Linked DNA regions of Homo sapiens: region 2 is linked to region 1. Evidence: promoter capture Hi-C in 16 types of primary human blood cells and fetal thymus (Javierre and others, 2016). All regions are on one chromosome and are shown on one strand. The core of a region is centred on a gene start or on the middle of the fragment in contact, and the rest is flanking DNA. Distances in the headings are between cores, read along the strand shown.

Evidence for each region. The method cuts DNA at HindIII sites, captures the fragments that hold promoters and counts their contacts. A CHiCAGO score of 5 or more calls a contact.
Region 2: a fragment that was not itself captured here is called in contact with the fragment with the promoter of TMEM238 in region 1 in 4 of 17 cell types (non-activated CD4 T cells, total CD8 T cells, activated CD4 T cells and 1 more); the score reaches 5.9 in non-activated CD4 T cells.

The regions. Positions count from the first base shown.
Region 1 is chr19:55,378,076-55,385,541 of GRCh38, reverse strand. TMEM238 (transmembrane protein 238) reads left to right here and starts at 1,250. Exons shown (of 2, transcript NM_001190764.2): 1 at 1,250-1,820; 2 at 6,175-6,298. The coding sequence starts at 1,283. The coding sequence ends at 1,813. TMEM190 (transmembrane protein 190) reads right to left here. Exons shown (of 5, transcript NM_139172.3): 5 at 7,296-7,466. The coding sequence ends at 7,339. RefSeq lists enhancers at 565-634, 665-734, 688-1,650, 5,747-6,247 and silencers at 1,025-1,364, 1,655-1,744. The HindIII fragment of the contact is 6,498 bases long and covers 1-4,581 here.
Region 2 is chr19:54,451,006-54,458,471 of GRCh38, reverse strand. It overlaps LENG8 (leukocyte receptor cluster member 8), which reads right to left. Exons shown (of 16, transcript NM_052925.4): 2 at 7,090-7,182; 3 at 6,205-6,379; 4 at 5,720-5,821; 5 at 4,816-4,926; 6 at 3,790-4,042; 7 at 3,380-3,521; 8 at 2,905-3,108; 9 at 2,227-2,505; 10 at 2,007-2,147; 11 at 1,551-1,836; 12 at 624-725; 13 at 470-538; 14 at 240-369; 15 at 1-158. The coding sequence starts at 7,127. Among named protein-coding and RNA genes, the nearest start is that of LENG8, 5.5 kb to the right of the region's middle. The HindIII fragment of the contact is 1,697 bases long and covers 5,212-6,908 here.

The sequences.
Region 1 (7,466 bases), core at 1-2,500:
TAGCCCCGGCACCTTTGGATATTTCCGGTCTTCGTAAGCCCTCGCGGTGATGGCCAATGAGGGCGCCGAGGCCCGCTCGGGTATTTTCGGAACCCTCCGGAAACGCTCTTGGGAGAGGTGTGTATGTTCGGAAATACTCCGTCTTCATTCGGAATCCCTCGGCTAATCCTGGCAGCCCTCTTGCAGTTCGCCCTCCCCAGGGTTTTCTTGAAATAAAACTCTTAAACTGTTTAAGCCTGGGGAGAACCTACACGGAAACTTCTCGCTGACTGCCACCCCAGGGGAGCGCGGATGCCCTCTAAGGGAGAATTGTTTGGAGGGAGGGAGATTTGCATGTGGCTTCTCTTGGCTCCCTTTAGGATTCTATAGATTTGCCGGTCCTCTTCCCTGCCCTCCACCTGTGCCTCCAGCCTATGGTGTGCCTGTCACACCCCATCAGCTCCCTGGGAGGTTATGATCCGTTGTCAGGGCCACCCTAAGGGGGCAGGAGCCTTGCCTGATATTTCTCTGTGTCCTCGGCCTCACCCACGCGGCATGGTGCTGGGGAGGCCTCAGAGACTCCTACTGAACAAAAGGAATGAGGGTGCCTGTGTCACCTCCCCAGGGCTCCTTAACTTGCGGTTACACCCGGGCACTCCTTGGGGCAGGGGCTTCGTCTGGTCCATAGGACTATCCTCCATAGGACAGTCGGGGTTCGCCCAGCTTCCTCCACGGGTGCGCTCTGGACCTGATGGGTCTCGTCCGTCCTTGTGCCCGTGGCTTCATTCGCTGAACACAGGAGACCCCAGAAGACACGCGCTGAGTGAAGGAAACTCAGCTTCCGCGGAACCCGGAGCTTCCCCTCTTAGATCACCCCGACTACTGGTTCTCGCGTCCCAGAGCTCCTTGGTGTCTAAAGGCCTTGTCTGATCTGCACTGTCTGATCTGCACAGGCTTCGGGAGGCGGACACTGAGCAGAAACAACGCCACGCCCGGCTCCGAGTGTCCCATGCTGCCACCACTAAAATGCCCTGATTTTTGGCCATATGTGACCTCCCTGGGTGGCACGGGCCCTAGGCACCCGTGGCTGTGCGCCTGGCTACCACCAGCTCAGGCCTCTGAGCAATAGCCCCTGCACGGAAACCACGACCAGGGTAACCCCGGCCGCGCCGGTTCGCGCCCAGCCCGGTTCAGGTGACCAGGCGGGAGCTTGGCACACCTGGCGCCGTCCCCTGACCCCGCCCCGGACCGGGCCGCACCCCGGAACGCTCTCTCTGGGCGCCAGCGGCGGCGGTGCAGGGCCATGGCGGCGGCGCCAGCGGTGTGCGCCTCGCAGGGGAGCCCGCCGGGTGCACCGTCCGCGCCGGCGGCCGCGCCAGCACCCGCGGCCGGCCTGGGCCGCTGCCGGATGGCGCTGCTGCTGGCCGTGGCGCTGGATGTGGCGGGCATGGCGGCGCTGCTGACCGGCGTGTTCGCGCAGCTGCAGGTGCGCGGCCGCGACTTCGGGGACCTGCTCATCTACTCGGGCGCGCTGCTGGTGTTCCTGAGCCTGCTGGGCTGGATCCTCTGGTACACCGGCAACATCGAGATCTCGCGCCAGGAGCTGGAGCGCGACTACGGCCTGCGGCCCTCGGCGCTCGCCCGCCTGGCGCGCAAGCTCTCCCGCCGCTGGTCGGCGCCCGCCGCCGCGGGCCAGCGCCCCGCGCCCGGCTCCCGGAGAGCGCGCCGAGCCGCCCGCGCGCCCCCGCCGCCCGCCGCCGGCTCCCGCCGCGTGCGCCTGCAGCTCGCCACGCTCGAGGCCGGGCCCGGGGCGGCGGGCGCGGGCAGCGAGTGAGGCCCAGGTGAGGGGCGGGCGGGGCAGGGCGGGGAGACGGAGGGACCGAGGGAGGGACGGGAATGGAGACAGACGGGGGAGCGATGGACAGATGGAGACAGAGAGCGGCCATGGGGAGGTAGAGTCCCAGGGCGGGGTGGAGACAGGGACGGGAAGGCTCTGGCGGAGAACCGCAGACACAGCAAGCACAGGTGCATACGTGGGGGAGGCTGTGAGACCCTGCCCCTGGAGATGGGAAGTGTGGGGGTCGAGTCACACAGTTAGGCCCCCCGCACGGGGAGAGCCCCAGCTTCCAGGTACACCAGGCCCCATTTTTTGTTTTGTTTTGTTTTGTTGTCGTTTGGGGTTGTTTTGAGACAGGATCTCTCACTGTCACCCAGGCTGGAGTGCAGTGGCGTGATCTCAGCTCACAGCAGCCTCGACCTCCTAGGCTCAAGCAGTCCTCCCACCTGAGCCTCCCAAGTAGCTGAGAATACATGTGCGCCCCACCTTGCCGGGCTAATTTTTGTATATTTAGTAGAGACGGGGTTTTGCCATGTGGGCCAGGTTGGTCCCCACCTCCTGAGCTCATGCGATTTGCTCTCCTCAGCCTCCCAAAGTGCTGGGATTACAGGCGTGAGCCACTGAGCCCAGACCAGGCCCCATTTAATCCTCTCCATGTAACTGGTCTCCAAGGTCACTACTATTACCATCCCCATTCTGCAGTGGAGGAAACTGAAGCGCAGAAAGGCGCCACATTTGCCCAAGGCCACACAACACGTAGGTGGAGGAGCTGGGATTCTCCTGACCTGTAGGCCTAGGAAAAGAGGAGCTGGGATTCTCCTGACCTGTAGGCCTAGGAAAGGAGGAGCTGGGATTTTCCTGACCTGTAGGCCTAGAAAAGGAGGAGTAAGAAGGACCAACAGCAGGAGAAATGAAGCCACCACACATTCACTCCCCTTTCCCCTCTACCTTCTATCTCTTTCCTAAACACACCTTTCCAGCTAGCCTGCCTCTGCTCAAAGACCTGCTGTGGCTCCCTCTTCACCTTTGGTTAAACTGAAGCACTCACTGGCCTGTGGACCCCCCATATTTTGGCCCCATTTCTCCTGCCTCTCTGCACTAATGGTGTCTCTTAGTCCACAGATAGCCAGTTGGTCCCTGTTCCTGCTCTTCTCTACACCAGGAGTGCCCTTGGCTGTCTCCACTCCACCCAGAAAACTTCTCACATGTTTAAGATTTAACTTAATTTCTCTGGGTCTTCTCTGGGTCTTCATATTGTCTGAGCGACCCCTCTTGCTGCTTATATGGCCATGTGCTGTGTCTATGTTGTTACTGTCTCTCCCACCTGACAGGGAGTGCCTTGAGGGTAAGACCTAGGTCCCTAGCGTCCTTGTTCCTAGCATTGCCCAGCAAAAAGTGTGAAATCAGGAAAGGTTGATGGTTGGGTAGGGAAGTGGAAGGATGGATGGAAGAACGGATGGCTGGATGGGTGGATGGGTAGATGGATGGGTGGATGGATGGATGAGTTGGTTGATGGATGCATGGGTGAATGGATGATAGATTGATAGATGGGTGGGTGGGTGGATGGGTAGATCGATGGGTGCGTGGATGGATGAGTTGTTTGATGGATGGATGGGTGAATGCATAGATGGGTGGGTGGTTGGATAGGTGGATGGGTAGATGGATGGGTGGATGGACGGGTGAATGGACAGATGGGTGGGTGGGTGGATGGGTGAATACATGGGTTGGTTGATGCAGGGATGTGGTTGGATTGACGGATGGATGGGTTGTTTAATGGGTAGATATGGGTAGGTGGTGAATTGGGCAATGAACCATGAATGGATATGGTTGGAGAGGGAGCCCTGCCTGATAAAGGGGCAAGAGCTTTTCCTGATACTTCTCTGTGTCCTCGGCCTCACCCATGCAGCATGGTACTGGGGAGGCCTCAGAGACTCCTACTGAACAAAAGAAATGAGGGTGCCTGTGTCACCTCCCCAGGGCACCTTAACTTGCGGTTACACCTGGGAACTCCTTGGGGCAGGGGCCTCGGCTGGTCCATAGGACTATCCATAGGACAGTCAGAGTTTGCCCAGCCTCTGTGCGCTCTCTGGATAGATAGGTAGATGGGTGAATGGGTAGTTGAATAGATGGTTGGGGCTGAATGATAAGTACACAGATGAGTGGATGAATGCATTTAATGGCACATGGATGGTTGGGTGACTGAATTCATCTCTCAAATAGGGTTTTGGTAAAAGAATTAAACCCTATTATCCTAGGACGTTCTATGTAGGTAAATAATTAACTTTTTTTTTTTTTTTTTTTTTTTTTGAGATGGAGTTACACTCTTGTTGTCCAGGCTGGAGTGCAGTGGCGCAATCTCGGCTCACTGCAACCTCTGCCTCCCGCGTTCAAGCAATTCTCTTGCCTCAGCTTCCCGAGTAGCTGGGATTACAGGCATGCACCCCCACACCTGGCTAATTTTGTATTTTTAGTAGAGACGGGGTTTCTCCATGTTGGTCAGGCTGGTCTCAAACTCCCGATCTCGGGTGATCCGCCCACCTCGGCCACCCAAAGTGCTGGGATTACAGGCGTGAACCACCGTGCCCGGCTGGAATTAACTTTTCTCCTATGCATCCAGAATGCTACCAGTTATATATTATTCTTTGTGAGATTTGGGGAAATAGTCACCCCAATCATATGCTACGTGCCGTGATTCAGTGAAGGAACTGGGGTAAGAAAGCATGAACATCTGCTTGCACGGGTGAAGCGTAAGCTAACATGAAGCTTGGCATAGAATGCAAACATAAGCACCTGTAGTTACTGTTACCTTTGGAAATCCTGGCTGAGCACAGTGGCTCATGCCTGTAATCCCAGCACTTTGGGAGGCCGAGGTGGGAGAATTGCTTGCTTGAACCTGGGAGGCAAAGGCTGCAGTGAGCCAAGATCACGCCACTGCACTCCAGCCTGAGTGACAGAGTGAGAACCCGTCTCAAAAAAAGAAAGAAAAGAACATCCTTTATGAGGTTGGGCATGGTGGCTCATGCCTGTAATCCCAGCACTTTGGGAGGCCGAGGCGGGTGGATCACCTGAGGTCAGGAGTTCGAGACCAACCTGGCAACCATGGTGAAACCCTGTCTCTACTAAAAATACAAAAATTAGCCAGGCATGGTGGCGGACGCCTGTAATCCCAGCTACTAGGGAGGCTGAGGCAGGAGAATCACTTGAATCTGGGAGGCGGAGGTTGCAGTGAACCAAGATCGTGCCACTGCACTCCAGCTTGGGCAACAGAGCAAGACTCCATCTCAAAAAAAGAAAAGGAGAGGAGAGGAGGGGAGGGGAGGGGAGGAGGGGGGAAGGGGGAGGGGAGGGGGAAGCAGGGAGGGAAGGGGGGAAGGGAGGGGAGGGGGAAGGGGGAAGGGGGAGGGGACGGGCAAGGGGGGAGGGGAGGGGGGAAGGGGGGAGGGGAGGGGAGGGGAGGAGAGGAGAATCCTTTACGTAGCTTAAACGTCTAACACAGCTGCACAGGCCTCCACTCTTGGAGCCTCCACCAAAGACTCAGACCACACTGACTCGAACGTAGGCCCCACTTAGAGGAAAATGGGCCTGTTCAAACCCAGGACTCTTGTTTACTGGGGAGAGTGAGCAGCTTCCAGCGCATGAAAGACAGAGAACCTGAATTTTAGCAGAGGGACCCACAGGTTCTGGCTCTGGTACCCCCACAACCTCCGAGACCACCATGAGTAGCCGGGCAGAGCCACCCCCATCACTCTGTTGTTCAGGCTGGAGAGCAGTGGTGCAATCACAGCTCACTGCAGCCTCCACCTCCTGGGCTCAAGCAATCCTCCCACCTCAGCCTCCCAAGGAACTGGGACTACAGGTACCAGAGACGGGGTCTTCCTATGTTACCCAGGCTGGTGTCAAACTCCTGGGCTCAAGTGATCCTCCTGCCTGCAGCCAAAATGCTGGGGTGAGGGTCTGAGATGAGGACCACGATGCCCGGCCTCCTTCTGTCTTCACTGTGTCTGCCTGTCTCCCTCTCTCTCACTCTTTGTCTCTGTGTCTCTGTCTCCCAGGTCTCTTTCTTTGTCCCTGTGCTTCTGCCTTTCCCCTTCTGCATGTCTTCGTCTCCCCCTTTCTGCCTCTCCCTGGCTCGCATTCCCTGGCCTCTACCCTTGGATTTCAGGGCGTTAAAGGTACACACGCATGCACACACTCAGCAAATGGGGGCATGCAGGGATGAAGGAGCAAGTGTGTGAGTCCATGTGAGCGGCAAGGGCAGGCGGATGGGGCTCCCTGCCTCTGCCCCCGCAGGCAGAGAGCCCGGAACAGGGATGGGAGGGGTTCCTGAGCAGTCGCTCACTCCACCCTCCCTCCTGCAGACAACCCCTTGGCTCCAGCTGTCAGGACCAGACTGAGATGTGCAGCTGCCCCTACATCCGTGGCCAGACGGACGCTCCCTGTACCCCCTCCCTCCTCACTTGGATAAAAAGCAGATTTGCCTTAGTGCTGCATGTCTGTCTGGGAGAGGGACCCTGCTGGGGTGGGAATGGAGACGAGGTGGCTTGCTTCCTTCTAGCACCCAGGTGGGCCTGGCCACACCTGAGGTGAGGCTGCCCCTGCCCTGGGGAGACCAGGAGCCCTGGGGATATAGGAGCCTAGCCTTATGCTGGCCCCTTCTCAGAGGGGGCCAGAGAGGGGGCGGGGGATAAGGATCTTAGCCCAGACCCTCCACTCTAAGCCCCAACATCCCTGTGTGAGTTTGGGTTCACTGAGAAGCAGACACAGAGACAAACTGGACTTGCAAGATATGTCTTGGGGAAACACTTTTGTAGGGTAGCTTGGTGCAGGGAGAGGGAGGGAGGGATGGGTAGGACTAGTCTTAGACTGTACCGCACCTCCAAGAAAATTGCCACTGGCCCCTGGGGAGCTGGGAGCTGAAGTCATCGTCCATGAGGGAGGCCCCTGCCCTTCGAGAAGGCACCTGTACCCGGAACCCCCACCCCTTGCCTCGCCATGCTCAGTTATTGGTGGAGAGCAACCCATGGTAATCTAGGTGCATCTGGGGTGGGGGCGGGGGGCACTGTCAGTCACTGGCACTCCATGTAGGAGACTGAGGGGCACGTTTCCACAGCTGTGGCGTGCCCCTCTCCCCACCCAGTCCAGGCACCCCTCAGACCCCACCACCCCCACATACCCCCAACTCCCTCATTTCAGACCCGCACTCCAGCACTCGTACACCTCTATCCCCTCAGTCCAGGGTCCCCATGATCACAGCCCAGGACACCCCCATGAGCGCAGATCCCCCTCAGCTCGGATCCTCCCCACTTACCTCCCAGATCTCTCTCATTCCAGGCTCCCCCTCAGCTCACACCCCCACGACCACAGCCTGGCGCCCCCTAAGCCTCCATCCCCAAGCCCCCTCCAGCCCCCACCTGTTACCCCAGCCTCTGTGTGCACCATGCCCCCTGCTCCCCACGGCTTTCAGAGAAGAGAACACACGTCCGTCCACCGTATCTGTATTGAGCAGTCCCCCGGGGACTCCCCTAATCCTCCTCTTCCTCGCCCTCTGTCTCCTCACCCTCCTCCGTCCCTTCCCCCTCGGTGCCTCCCTCCACATCCCTGGACTCTTTGGACAGGGCGACTGGCACGCTGCCCGTGGACGGCGTCTTCT
Region 2 (7,466 bases), core at 4,811-7,310, 930 kb after region 1:
GTCCACGAGGTAGCCAGACATGCAGGGTGCATGGCAGTAGAGCCGGAAAAAGCGGTGGTAGTTGCCCAGGGCCCAGGCTGTCCTTAATGCCAAGGCGTGGGCCACGCAAGGATCTGCCTTCAGTTCTCGTGTGAGGTATGCCAGCTCCGTGGTGATGTCTAGCACCAAGACAAAGAGGGTGAAGTCAGCAGGGCTCAACCCTGGGTACCATGGCCTCTGTCCTGGGGACTGGGCCTCACCTCCCGAGTTCTTGGTGAAGATGTAGTAGAGGATTCGGTAGGCAGTAAACTCGCCCACATTGCCAGGCAAGTTCTCGGCGTACAGCGACTTGAGCTGCGTCTGGCACTGGTTAAACTCTTCATGGTCACCCTGGAAGGCAGAGGCACCGAGGGAGGAGAGCAGAGTGAGGGTGCTGAGGGCAGAACGGCAGCAGGAAAGGGGCTGGGGAGGCCCGCAGAGGCCAGCTCACCTTCTCCAAGGCGATCCGGGCATGGGTCTCGTACACCTCCACCGTGAACTCGGTGCGGATGCCCTGCACCTGGGGCAGCGGGGCGAGAACAAGAGTCACAAGGAGCGGGAGGCAGGACTGGCTGAGGCCAGGCCCCTCCCAGCGCGAGTCTCACCGTCAGATCCTGCCGGATCGACTTCATCTGCTCGCAGGCAAACGCGTAGTCCTGCTTCTCTTTCCAGTGGCACTTGACCATGCACAGCGACTTTTTCAAAACCTGAAAAAGGGAACTGAATTCACACTCGGAGTACAACTCAGGTAGCGTGGCCAACGGCTTCCACTTATTTGGTGGGAGAGTTGCAACATTAAAAAAAGAAAAAAAAGGCCAGGCGCAGTGGCTCACGCCTGTAATCCCAGCACTTTGGGAGGCCGAGGTGTGTGGATCATCTGAGGTCAGGAGTTTGAGACCAACCTGGCCAACATGGTGAAACCCCGTCTCTACTAAAAATACAAAAATCAGCCAGGCGTAGTGGCAGACGCCTGTAATCCCAGCCACTAGGGAGGCTGAGGCAGGAGAATCGCTTGAAGCCGGGGAGCGGAGGCTGCGGTGAGCCAAGATCACGCCATTGCACTCCAGCTTGGGCGACAGAGCCAGACTCTCTCCCAAAAAAAGAGAAAACAAACCCACAAGACATGGGTTAAGAGTGGCCACCTCCACACCCATTTCCCTATAAGCACATGGCTGTTCACAGGTTCTGCAGCAGAACAGTGACTACGCCAAACACTGGAAACACAGCCCCCCACGCCCCACAGCCCACGGGCCTGGGAGAAGGCTTTATGCTCCGTGTCACCTAAGCCAGGAACCACGGCCCAGAGGTCAAGCGATTCGCCGGCCAAGCTGCACACCCGCCACGCGGGGCTCCAGGGCAGCAGAGCGCCTTTGCGCTCCTCTCAGAATGCCGACCAGCCGAGGCGTCTCTGGCCGAGCTTCCCCTGCCATACCAGAGCCCCCGTGTGGCCTCTGCCACCCTCCCTGGGTTGGCTCCCCAAGTCCTGAGCCAGCACGGCCTCACAGAGCAGAACTGCCCTGCTGGGCACTTACTGCCACAGGGCGCACGGTGGACGGGTCGGGGGCACAGGTGAGGCGCAGGTAGTGCTTGGTGATGTCAGGGCAGGTGCCCACGATCTGCAGCTCCTGCCAGTCAGGGTCAGCCCCACTGCTCTCCAGGCTGCTCATCTGCAGCACCAGGGGCTCGAGGCGCAGGCGGCGGGAGTGTCCGTGCTGGAAGCGGGCTGCCCGCTTCTGCTTCTTCAGCTCTCGCTCCGGGTCCTCACACTCCAGCGCCGCCATCTTCTTTCGACTGCGCTTGGTGGGCGCCAGATCGTGCCTAGGAAGGGATGAGGGGCAGTGAGCGCGACAGGCGTCTCCAGCCCCCCTTCAGCCTCGCCCCTTTGGCAGCTGGCTGTCCACCTGTCCGGCCCTCCTCCTCCTTCTCCCATGGGTCCCCAGTACCCTCCTCCACCCTGGCCCGTGTGTCGAGCCCTCACACAGTCTCACCTCTTCCCACGCTGCGCCCTGCCTCGGCCCCGATCCATATGGGCCCCTCGACCGCCCCGGCCCTTAGGGGGCGGGTTCCTGCGGCCCACAGGGTGACACTCATTCCCTGAGTAGGAGCTGTCGGAGTCTGAGTGGGAGTCACTGCAGGAAGAAGCAGGAGGGTCAGGCCTGAAACGCCTCCCCCTCCCTCACACACAGCCCCAGCCGGGAGCCTCAGTACCTTCTGCGGAAGTGGCGCGTCGGGGACCTGGAGGAGGAGCGGGAGCGGGAGTCTGTGCTGGAAGAAGAGCTGTTGTCCTTCATGAAGACGTTGCGGTTGCCAAACTTGGTGAAGCTGTTGCCCCGGGCTCGACCGGCACCCCCAGCCCCGGGCGTCCCTCGCTGGGACGGGGCACCCCCGCCCCTTGTCGCCGAGCCTGCCCCTCTAGGAGGGTGAAGGCTGCTAGCGGCCTCCCACCGCTTCTTCTTAGGGCTCTCAGCCACAGGCTCCCGGGTCAGCCTGAGAATACAGCAGGGCAGGGCGTCACCAACCCCGCCAGACACTGGCAGGACAGCCGCCACCACCTCCCTCAAGGTACCGACCCGCCTCCGAAAGGAAAGGCACTTACCCCAGGCGGCTCAGCTACTACAGTGCAGAAATGAGACGCGAACCCAGGTTTTCCGTCTCCAGAGGGTGCGCTTAACCACTGAGCAATGCACGCCTCTCCAGCACCCATGGTCCCCACCCCACCCCACCGGCCTCCCTCCAACCAGGACTTCATCCCCCCAGGATCCAACTTTCCAGTTCATTTCTCTTTGGAGCTCCTGGTACCTGGGACCCGCAACTCTCCTACCTCCATACCCAGCCCATGCCTCTCACAGCACCACCCTCCCACCTATGTCCCCCACCCAGACTAACCCCGGCAAGGGCTCCCGGCTCCAGTCAATGGTATAGGCCGAGCCGTCCTGCAGCCGCGCCTGCAGCACCTCCTTGAGCAGCTTTTCCGTGCGGTCCTTGTCCTCCTCCGACTCACAGGCGGTGAAGCAGCGCTCCACATACTCTTTCATGTCCTGGGGCCAGTCATCCGGCTTCCCAGACAGGTTCCCCCGGGCAGAGGACCCGCTGCGGGAGGACAGATGAGGGGCTCAGCTGGAGACGATCCCAAACTCAAAAGACCATCCCCACCGCCACTCTGAGCTGACACAGCGGGACGCAGTCCCCAAGTTTTCCTTCTGTCTCCTTCAGTGCTCACAGCAACCCCCAAGAGAGGGTCCTTCTGCCCTTTTCAGAGGCGCACACTGAGGCTCAGGGTGGGCAGCTGGCCAGTGGGACTGGACCATAGACGCTGAGTGCAGAGTGTGGGGCTGCGACGGGGCAAGGGGGCAGACGTCACCTGTGGTTCTGAACTTTCTCAGGGTTGGGCTGGGGGCCAAAACCACTGTGCTGGCCCTCTGCGTTGGAGCCAAAGCTCTGGGTGGTAACAGCAAAGGGTCGCTTCTGGATGTTGAACTTGAGACCTCCAGTCCCAGGGGCGGCTGTGAGGGCAGCGAAAGCTATGGTTAGGCCCTTCCCCGGCACATCCAGGGGTCCCCAGGGGACGGGAGGAAGTGGAAATGCAGGGAGGAGCGCTCAGGTTCTAGAGGAGGGCTCCAGCACACATGTGCCTGGTCCAGAGCAGCCCCACCCCCAGCCTGGCGATCACAACACCCAGAAACAAGGAGCAGCACACACCACGGGCCTCACACCCAGGAGCTCTTATGAGGGCCCAACCGCTCGGACCTCCACGTAGCTCTGCCAACTTACGTTTCATGCGGTTCCACAGCTGTTGGCCCTTCTTGGGCTTGGCAGGTTCGGTGTAGGTGTGTGGCCCATAGGCCTGGCCCGTGGCGGGCCCCGCCTGGCTGTGCTGTGTGGCTGGAGCTGTCCCAGGCTGAGGGCCACTGTTCAGCGTGTGAGCCCCATGTGGGGGATTTGAGGGCTGAGGGGGCTGAGCCGACGGCAGCTGCTGAGGGGGAGCCTGGTAGGACATGCTCTCATCCATGCCGGGGACTGGGGGCTGCAGAAGGAAGCAGGCGCTGAGCACGGGAGGCAGATTCTGGGGCTGGCGAGTGGCACTCAGCCCTCGCTGTGAGGACGCAGTGGTCACAGCACTCAGCACTCAACCCTCCCGTGACCTTCCCAAATGTGAGTTCATTCGAGTCCTCAGTAACTCTGTGAGGTTAACATTTGTTAACAGCCCTTTTCACAGCTGACAAGGCTCCAGCTCAGAGACTAAGCGACTTCCCAGGGCCCTAAGCTATGAAGCGGCAGCTGGCAGCGTTTCAATGCTGGAGTAACAGCCACCGACAACACACCCACTCCAGCGCTACCATCTGAGCACAAGACACCCATGAGCACACACACTCATGGAGCCCAAGGATGAGGCTACCATCCTTCCCGCTTTCGAGAGCTGACCGAGATGCGTAATTACACCAGGGGTGGGACAGCTGGGATTCAAACCCAGGTCTACCTGCCTCCTGTGCACTAGCCCGGCCATTCCTCCAAGCTGCACATTCAATGCAAAACCCAGCCGGTGTGTGCACGCCTGTGGGTGACCATGCTAGGGAAAAAGATGAGATGTCTTTCAACATCTCAGCCCTGGCCTTGGCTCAGCCTTAAACCCACCCCAGGTTCAAACACTATGCTCTGTCCTCCTCATTTTCAGATCAGGAGTTGCTTGGAAGGAAAAAAGCAGCTTAAGGAGTACAAGCCATTCCTCATTGACAGCTCATTCAAAAATCTACACTTCCTCTGCTTGAGCAGGGTATGGGAGCTGGGCTAGGATGTTACCTGGTTCAGAGTCCCTTGGTGTTGGGGTGCGGATGGCTGCTGGGGTGTGGCTGAGCCATAGGAGCCGGCCATCCCATACTGGGAAGGGGAGCCATAGCTCTGGTACATGCTCTGCAAAGGCGCAGGGAGGGAGGGTTTAGTGGGAGGCCTACCCTTTCCGCTTCCCCAGCCTGCTCAGGAACTACACCAGCCATGACCCTCTACCAATCCCTCACCCCTTTCTCTCTTCACTATATTAATGCACCACATCCTCTCATATATTAGGAAAAGAAAAACCTCTATCAATCCCACATCTCACTTAGCTAGTTCTCGGAAGAATATAATCAACGATACTGAGTGCCAACTCTTCTAAGCACTACGACAGAACAAAAGGAAAACCCATGCTGTAATGAAGCTTGTGCTGGAATTACATGTCCGGCTGGAGACATCAACATGTAATACATCCAGCAATAAGGATCATGAAACAATAAGATGGCAAAGAAAGGGAGAGGGACAGGCTGCGAGGCAGGAATGCTACTTTCAATCAGTGTGTCAGGTAGAGGCTCTCTGAAGGCGGCATCTGAGCAGAGACCTCCAAGAGGCGGCAACACAGGGAGCACTGCAGCCAGGGCAAAGCGAGAGCGGGCCTGGCGGGTGCGGGCATCAAGGAGGTCTCTGCTTCGATGGCCATGGCAGAATGAGCATGAGGAGAGAAGGGACCAGAACCGGGTATGTAGGACCTTGTGGCTCATGGCGGGGACCTAGGAATTTACCTCCTGGGCAAGTTAGAGGGTTTCTGAGCAGTTATCACTGCGATCTCCAGTCCATCCACCACCCAGCCCCATCCCGGCAGACTCCACTTCACCTCGCCCCGACCCAGCAGACTCCACCTCGCCCTGCCCCGCCCCACTGGCTGGGCACTCACCATGGGATAGTAGTAGCTGTAGGGGTAGGCATAGTTGTACTGCTGGTACCACTGGTAGTACTGCTGCTGCTGCAAAGCTGAGGCTTCTGCCTGGGACACGTACTGTGGAAGCAGAGGCACATGTGCCGTCAGCAGCCCAAATCCACAGGCACACGGCCCCCAAAGGGCAAGCCTGTTTACTGGTGGCCAATTGCCAAGGGATGAAACTGGGTCCATGTATCTGCAAAGTGAGCCACTGTCTCTACCATGAGACTCACGCACGTTAGAGACCAGGGGCATGGGCATGGCCTCCCTCTTCAGAACCACATCACGCCCTAATTTCCTCAAGGAAACAGAACTTTTTCCCGTTCAGATTTAGATACCCTGGAACGTCTTTTCATGTTTCCCCTCAGAGCACCCCGTCTGAATGATACAACAGGACGCCAGACTGTGTCCCTCCCACAACCTCTGGCTCAGGGTACCCCAGCCCCATGAGGCCTTCTCACCTGTGCACTGGCCACAGGCCCATTGCTGCTGGACTTGGCAGAGCCGCCGGCAGCTCCTGACTTGCTGATGCTGGCCAGGGCCTGACGGGCCTTCTCCCACTCCGGGTTCTCGTGCATCGGCGTCTCCATGCCATTCTCTCGGCCTGCCCCAGCCACCATGCTGTACTGAGAAGACCTGCAGAGAGAGAGGACATCAAGTCACACCTGTTCTCCCCACTGTACACAGGTGGGCAAGTTGGGAGGCAAATTCCAGCCCCTGGATCCCATATCTAACTGTTACTACCAGTCTAAGCCTAAGTTTTCTAATCTGTACTATGCTGATAAAGGGTTTCTGCTTCAGAGTCTGCTGGGAGGGATAAATGAGATCACCTACTTAAGGTACTTATCCCAGAGCCTGGCACACAGCAGTTGTTAAAACCAAACAAACAAAACAATTAACAGAACCCACAGAACTGAACACAGGCCTTGGCACCTCCTAGGGCTATGTCTTTCATGAATCAATGAATTCTGTCTGACATCACCCCAGTCGGCAGGTTATCACACTATTTTGAGAAAAAATAAGGAATCAGCAGAAAAACAAATAAATGACTGTGTATTGAGTGTTGGGAAGCTGCCTCCTAATTACACTTGCTTGAATGAATCATCACAATTCTGCAAAGCAAGCGCTGTACTGTGAAAAACGAAAGCTCAGAGAGGTGAAAGCTTGCCCCTCTCCACACCACAACCAAATGCTTCCCTCTGTGTTTGCCTCACCACCACCCCCACCCACAGGGATTGTGGCATCACCTCCCCTAAGGCCACGGGAGGTCCCACCCCAGAGGACAGCACTGGGTCTTGCTTCCTCTTTCCCTCCCGACTGGCCTCCATCCCTCTCGCCTCACTAACCAATCTGTGCTACGTTGATCACCCACGTTGGCCGCCATCTGGACCTTGGGGTATAAGGGGTGGACCTCGGGAGCCAGACTGCTTTTTCACTGTCTATGAGAAAAAGAATGAGTTAGGGAGACTTAAGGGGGAGCTAAAAACACGTCACAAAGTGGGGAAGAAAAGTAGATGGACTCAAGAGAAGCCGGGCAGAAAAGGGGAGGCTGACTGAAAAGCCACTGGGGTCAAGGATCTGAAGAGTTCTGGGTGTGGACTAGAAAGGCTGGAGTGAGGGGAAGCCCCTGGCCCCTTTGTAGAGCTCCAGGTGGAAAACGAAGGATTTGGAAACAGGGAAGCCAGAGCAGACTTCCCAAAGGGAAGGAGAAGGGTCTGAAACC